Regions from separate parts of the Homo sapiens genome. Here region 2 is linked to region 1. Evidence: promoter capture Hi-C in human tissues and cell types (Jung and others, 2019). All regions are on one chromosome and are shown on one strand. The core of a region is centred on a gene start or on the middle of the fragment in contact, and the rest is flanking DNA. Distances in the headings are between cores, read along the strand shown.

The links. Contacts are between HindIII fragments. The study calls those that stand out against the background at their distance.
Region 2: a fragment that was not itself captured here is called in contact with the fragment with the promoter of LYN in region 1 in 1 of the 25 tissues and cell types used here (H1 embryonic stem cells).

What each region holds. Positions count from the first base shown.
Region 1 is chr8:55,878,318-55,881,683 of GRCh38, forward strand. It overlaps LYN (LYN proto-oncogene, Src family tyrosine kinase), which reads left to right and starts at 1,518. Exons shown (of 13, transcript NM_002350.4): 1 at 1,518-1,786. RefSeq lists enhancers at 612-701, 1,262-1,321 and silencers at 1,472-1,531, 1,552-1,721, 1,802-2,091, 2,122-2,301. The HindIII fragment of the contact is 15,672 bases long and covers 1-3,366 here.
Region 2 is chr8:55,911,646-55,915,011 of GRCh38, forward strand. The region is part of intron 1 of LYN (LYN proto-oncogene, Src family tyrosine kinase); the gene reads left to right. Among named protein-coding and RNA genes, the nearest start is that of SNORA1B, 10 kb to the left of the region's middle. RefSeq lists enhancers at 2,426-2,926, 2,927-3,366. The HindIII fragment of the contact is 8,639 bases long and covers 1-3,366 here.

The sequences.
Region 1 (3,366 bases), core at 268-2,767:
GGTAAGCCTGATGATGCTTTGTTCCTTACCCTGAGAGACATTTTACCAAAAACACTGACAGACATTCCTGATAGATTAACCAATACCAAACGTTTTTGAATCCTATTCTTATTTGCCACACACGTTTAGTCAGGATCTCAAGGATTCATCAGTAGCAGCAGAAACTTTAATGTAGGGTTAATATATTTGAGAGGTCATTCTTAAGAAAAGTCTAGGCAATAGGCCCTCAGGTAGTGAATTATTCTGTAGGATTCATTGTTTTTTGTTTCATTTTGTTTTGTTTTGTTCTTTTTTCATTTTTCTATTTTTCTCCATAGGATTCTTGATAGGTTTCAATCACACACCTTCCCATGGGTATTTCCATGGGCAACCCACCCCTTCTCTTCAGCAGTAAACTAACAACTACATACCAGTGAACATCACAGGTATAAACCACCTTTCTTCTTTTAAGGAATTAGTATGCAAACTTTAGTACTCTTTTCCTAGTAACAAATAACTGCTGTATCAGATTGTGTCACAAGGCAGCTGCTTTGACTTATTGCTCTGTAGCTGGGGTCAGCCTCTTCAGAACATTGTTAATGAGAGAAAGGAAGTGCTTTGGGCAGTGTCTGGCCCATCAGGCCCTCTGTAAATGTTTGCTATTAATGCAATGCTGAGATCCCAGTGAACAGAATCTGGCTTAGAAGAAGTGGGTATCCACGGTGCCCGAGCCTAATCTTACATCTTGGATTTGTAAGTGGCATTTATTGAGTTGAACATGAGCTTGAGCACGCGGTCACACATTCTTTCAGCAAACACTGGTTAGGCACCAGCTGCTACGTGCAAGCACTGCCCTACATGCTGGGACGCAGCTGTAGTAGGAATGAAATAACGCCAGCATTCCTGCATGCGGGCAGTGCGGGCCCTGTACAGAAAGGTACACGAGATAGGCATCCTCACATCCATTGTCCTGGGAGGAAACTGAGGCTTTGAGAAACGGAGAACTTGCCGGGCCATTTGACTCTACGTCATCCCCTCCCCCATCAATGCCCTGAACAGCCTCCTGTACACCCTTAAGGAACTTACTTTGTAATGATTATTAAGAACTCAGCGAGACCCCGAGCATCACCTCGGCATATCGCATCCTTTCTCTAGAGAACCCCTAATGTTGGAAGGGATCAGAGCGCACCTCCTCCGCTCCTGGGAGCACCCCCTTCCTAATAATACCTTGGGGATGGGTCGGAAGGAAAGGAAAGGAGACGCGAGAGGTGTAGTCGATGTGCCTGCGAAGCCCAGGCTCCTCTGGAGATCCTTCCGTCCGTCCCTACAGGAGAAGGCTGGCCCGGGCTGCTCCACTCCCCGGAGCTGCAGACTGAGTCGCCAGGTTTCTGTGCCTTCAAAGCCCTGCGCGACGGCCACACCAAACACCCAAACCTTGGGCAGGGACCAAACGGTCACTTCCCCGCCCTCCGGGCTCAATATGCAAATCCGAGCACCAGGAAGTAGCTGGGACCTCTCGGCCGAGCCCAGAGACAGCCAGTTCCTCTCCCGCCGCGCCGGGCCGCGCTGCCGCTCGCTCCCCGGCCGTGGCGCCTCCGGGCCAGACGCGCTGCAGCCTCCAGCCCGCGGCAAGCGGGGCGGCCGCGCCACCCCCGGCCCCGCGCCAGCAGCCCCTCGCCGCGCGTCCAGCGTTCCCGGCCAGCAGCCTCCCCATACGCAGGTCCTGCTGGGCCGCCCCGTCGCGCCCCCCACTCTGAACTCAAGTCACCGTGGAGCTCCGCCGCCCCGAAACTTTCACCGCGAGCGGGTGAGTCCTCTGCGCGAGCCCAGGGGTGGGCGCGGGCACGCGGGCAGTGGGTGCAGGGGCCGCGGCTGTGCCACCAGCCGGAGTCCCGGGCGCAGGGTAGACTCGGGGCCGGGGGCATCGGCGCGGCCCGCGGCGGCTTCCTGGCCGCACCGCCTCTGGGCTCCGGCGGCGAAGGCTCTTAGATGTCTTCAGCCGACGGGTGACCGGGCCCGGGGGAGCCAGGGCGCGGGGACTGAGGCTCCGCAGGTGTCCGCCGCGGAGCCGCGCAGGGGAGCGGTGGGAGGTGCGGGCGCGGGGGCGGGCTCACCGCGTGTCCTTCCCGGTGAGGGCCCGAGGGCCGGCTGCTGTCCCTGCTCCGGCCGCTTCTCGCACACAGTGGGGAAGCCGCTGCCCTTGCGGAGCGGGCGCGCGGCGGGGATACTGGAGAGGACTCCTCGGATTGTGCAATCTGATCTCCCCTCTGGACCCTGGGTCTCCTGGCAGTGGGAGATGGGGCTCGGCCGGCGCCCTCTCGAGGCCCGCGGACAGTTGCCCTCCCTGGTGGCCCCGGGCAGGAGCGTGACGTCGAGGGGCTGCAGCGGAGGCTGGAACTCACCCTCCCGCTGCGGCGCCTCTCGGCCTGCCGAGGAGCAGTCCGGTGCTTTTGCCGGCTGAGAGGAAGCGAGAGTTATTTTAAGAATTCAGGGGTTGCCTTTCCTTCGCCTTGGGGGAAGGGCGTAAGAGTCAGTTCCCACTTTCCTGCATTCTCTGGGCCCATGGTGGCATCTTTTGCTTGCGGTGCATTCGTAACTTTCCAACAGCCTGCCTGTCATGTGGATTAGCGGTTGTGTTTTTGTATATCCGAGTGTGTTAATTATCCCAAATTCGCCCTTCTTCGCCAGCTCAGAATCTAGGCCTTGCACTTTTCTGGCTGTATATTTAGGGGACCGATTATTGAAATTCCCTGTTTGAGTTTCTTCATCTTTGAGAGAGCATATATACCTCAGGGGCTGTTTAGTACACACAAAGCCCCTAGTACGTACCAAGCATTTCATAAACGATGTTACTGTTATTTATTGCAGTGAATTCTATTCATATAAATGAGGCTTCTTGGTTCTTTGCAGCTTGGTGATGTTGAAGCTAAGACTACCATGTCAGATTTAGCCATCTGACCTTATTAGTAAATCTGCTTAATAAATACATGAGGGATTTGCTGTCCCAAAGCAGGGCCCAGTAGTCTGACTTTCCCTAAAGAACTAGCCAATAAACTGGTGGGCTACAGGGATGTTTTCTCTGTACAGCCAACACCTAAAGCCATGCCCTGGGGAATAGGCACTGCAAGAACCCAGGCCTTACTAAGCCCTTCTCTGTAAGAGTAAGCTTTGTTGGGAAAGGGTGGGATCCAGTTAGTCCCTCCATTCTCATTTGGAGGTAAGCAGGTAAGCGCTTTGAGGCCTGAATAAATTTCACTGGATCATAGAGTCTTTGGTGACTGGGCCTCTTTGGATGTAAATGTGTGGCCCTTTTGCTGAGTGAAGGATAGAGGGCAGCAGATGTAAGGGGAGAGAAAGTAGGAGCCAGGAACCTTGAGTTTTGGCCTC
Region 2 (3,366 bases), core at 570-3,069, 34 kb after region 1:
TTTATCTGGTAACCCTGGGGGCAGTCCTATGAGCTGCGGGGCACCTGCCCTGGAGACTGAGGCAGGGAGTCAAAGCGACATGAGATTGGGGATAGGTTTTGCATGTCCGTGGAAAGGGCTTGCTGATGAATTTGATTTGAAGATTGAGAAACAGAGGAATCAAGGGCGACTTCTTGGTTTTAAACTTCAGCACCTGGTGCCCTTTACTGAGATGGAGAAGATGGGAGGGGAGTGGGTTTCAAGTGTGTTGTGATATGGACAGGTCTTATTGATGGGGTGTGGTGGGCGTCCAAATGGAGATGTGGAAGTTTGATTCTGAGTGAGCTCAATATCGTCGTGGTGTGTTCTACCACGTCCCTTCTAGCCCTTTCCGCGCTTTCTCCCATCTAGTGTTTCCCTGCTCAAATGGAAGGAGAGAGGAACAACTTAGAGCACAGTGTGACTGGGGCAAGCTACCTTAGAGATAATCATTTAAACACCAGCTAGACTGCTGCAAGAAAAGAAATGATGGTAAAAATAAATGTACTCCAAAGGAATTTGACTAAAGAATATTTCACCGTGTAACACATTTCTGTGTGCCCCTTTTGCAATGTATCATTAAGGATGCATTGCTAGGCATAATGAAACAAAATGTTTTTCGTAATGAAGTGGTTATTTTGCAATGAAAGCCAGTCAAGGAAAGAAATCAGGCTTGAATACTCCTAGTCACAACCTTTATAAAATCTAACGTTATGGTTAGACTATACCATGCCTGCGCTTAAGTAGTTTTTGAAATTTTAACCCAAATAAGAAATTCTTGGCTGGGCATGGTGGCTTATGCCTGTAATCCCGCACTTTGGGAGGTCGAGGCAAGCGGATCACCTGAGGTCCAGGAGTTCGAGACCAGCCTGGCCAACGTGGCGAAACCCCGTAGCTACTAAAAATACAAAAAATTAACTGGGCATCGTGGCACATGCCTGTAATCCCAGCTACTCAGGAGGCTGAGGCAGGAGACTCTCTTGAACCTGGGAGGCAGAGGTTGCAGTGAGCCGAGATTATGCCACTGCATTCCAGTCTGGGTGACAGAGTGAGACTCCATCTGAAAAAAAAAAACAAAACAAAACAAAACAGAGAAGAAATTCCTTCATTATAAGGAAAAAAGAAATGCACATAAGCACAGTTACAATATTATATTTCCTGATTAAAAATATGTATTCTTTTAATGGACTACAAATATTATAATTTTTCTTAAAATGGCCCGTGTGTAAAAAGTTTATTCCCCTTTACTTTACTTTTATATAGTAATGAAATTTCATAATTAAATCTATATTTTGTATTATCAATATTTAACCACTAGAAGAATTGATGATGCTACTTATTAAAAATGACAAGTGATGTAATAGAGTTAGTGGGATGTCTGCCTGTTGAAACCATTTTACTAGGTAAGTATTTTTATTACAAAGGGGTTGGATATAAACTGGCCTCATATCCAAAAACCTTTTTGCAAAAATCAAAACTGGATATATCCTGTGTTCGCTTCCTTTTCCCTGGGCCCCTCTGTTAAAATCTTTTAGCAAAAAGATTTTACCAAATAATTCACATTGAAATATAAATAGTTTTAAAGTTTGCTATGTTGCTTTCTTTCCAAAGGTATTCAGATTTTAGTAGGGGACAAAAGTGTCCCCTAAGTCAAGTGAGTATAAGAATTACCTATATTGTTTGCTACAAATGCAAATATCCACAGCCTCCTTGTAAAGTCTCATTCAGGGGCTGCCTACTGCAGGGCCCAAGAATCTATATTTTTAACAAATACTCTGGTCATTCTTGGGACTAGCAAATCTAGAAAACACCAACTTGAATAAAACGATTAAAGTTGTGCTTGCTGAATTTCAACTACATTAAAGGTACCAGTGCTGGAGGAGATTTTTGAGGGGTTGAGGAGAAATAATTACACATAAATTATTTTATTAATGAAATGATTCAGCAAAGTGTAAACGCCCGTAATGGGCTTGGCAGTGTCCTGGGGCTGAAGGTACTGAGTAGAATAGGACGTGAGACAAGTGCTCTACTTGAAATAAGCACAGACGTGGAAGAAGGGATGTGTAGTTTTGTCTGGGGATTCGGCACAGTTTTTATGGAGGATGTGGTCTGTGAAATGGCTGATTTGAAACATGAAGGAGGCTGCTTATGGGATGGGTTATTCTGGGAAGCAAGCAAGTGCGAGGGCACCAGAAGGTATGAAGGGCCTTGGAGTACTGGGCTTTCTTATGGCTGCGAGAGAGGATGAGTTGGAATGAGATGAGCAGCTTATGAAACCAGGAAGACAGGTTATTGTGGAGGAGTGACTTGCTAAGCTCTATCAGATGAGCAATGAGCAGTGAGGAAACAGGGGAGAGATGAAATCATGGCTGCTTTTGGAAAGATAAGTGGACTAGCATGCAGCATGGAGAATGGAGAGGTGGAGGGTTGTTGTTGGTGTGTGTGTGTGTGTGCACGTATGACAGAGAGAGAAAGAAGAGGGAATATGAATGGCATGGGAAATAAGAGAAAGGCAGGCCAGGTCAGAGGGTTTTTAGGATGGCCTGTGAGGTGTAGGAGGGTCTGGAGGTCGGCCGTGGAGTGGAGAAGAGATTGAGGACTCAGGCACTAATCTAAGGGGAAGGGGGACACTGTATTCTAAGGGGGCCAGTCCTGCTGCTCCCTGTAAGCACTTTATGTATTTGACATGAAATATACTGAGATGGCCCCCATACTTTAGGGTGCAAATGCTCCCCTAAAGTGAGAGTGGAAGAAGAAAAAAGGAGAAGGCACTTATTTGCTCATGTGAGCCGTGTACAGTTCCTTCAGAGCTCAGAGAGGCACTATGCAGTGAATCAAGCCAGGTCAGCTGCTGGGACTAGGGGCCTGGGTAGGTCACAGCCCTGCCGGCCATCCACATGCCTTCCAGGAACACCCCAATCTCTGGAACCTTTCCTGAGGCCTCCATTTTCAGGAATTTTGTTAGGAATCCAGATAACAGAATGGCCATAGTGGTGATTATGTTCCTTCTACCTCCTTTTCATCAGCCTCGCTCACCTTACCCTTCCAGACATGAGAAAACAGTTTCACTACAATATCCAGTAGATTTACCTAATTGGTAAAATAAGAAAGGCCAAGGAAGTTGCTCTTCTCTTCACTCCCACCCCTCCTGTTCATTTTGTTTGTAACAATAGAGCCAAGTTTCAAACAAATGTAGAAAAGGTGAGCAATGCTAATGATGTGTTTCAGATGGGATTCAGGGACAACTCAACTTGAAATTGTCTCTTAGCCATCTGTTTGTGTGCCTGGGGTTTCACCTGCTTTGAATTAGGGTAATTTAATAATTGTGAATTAGACTGGGAGAGTACA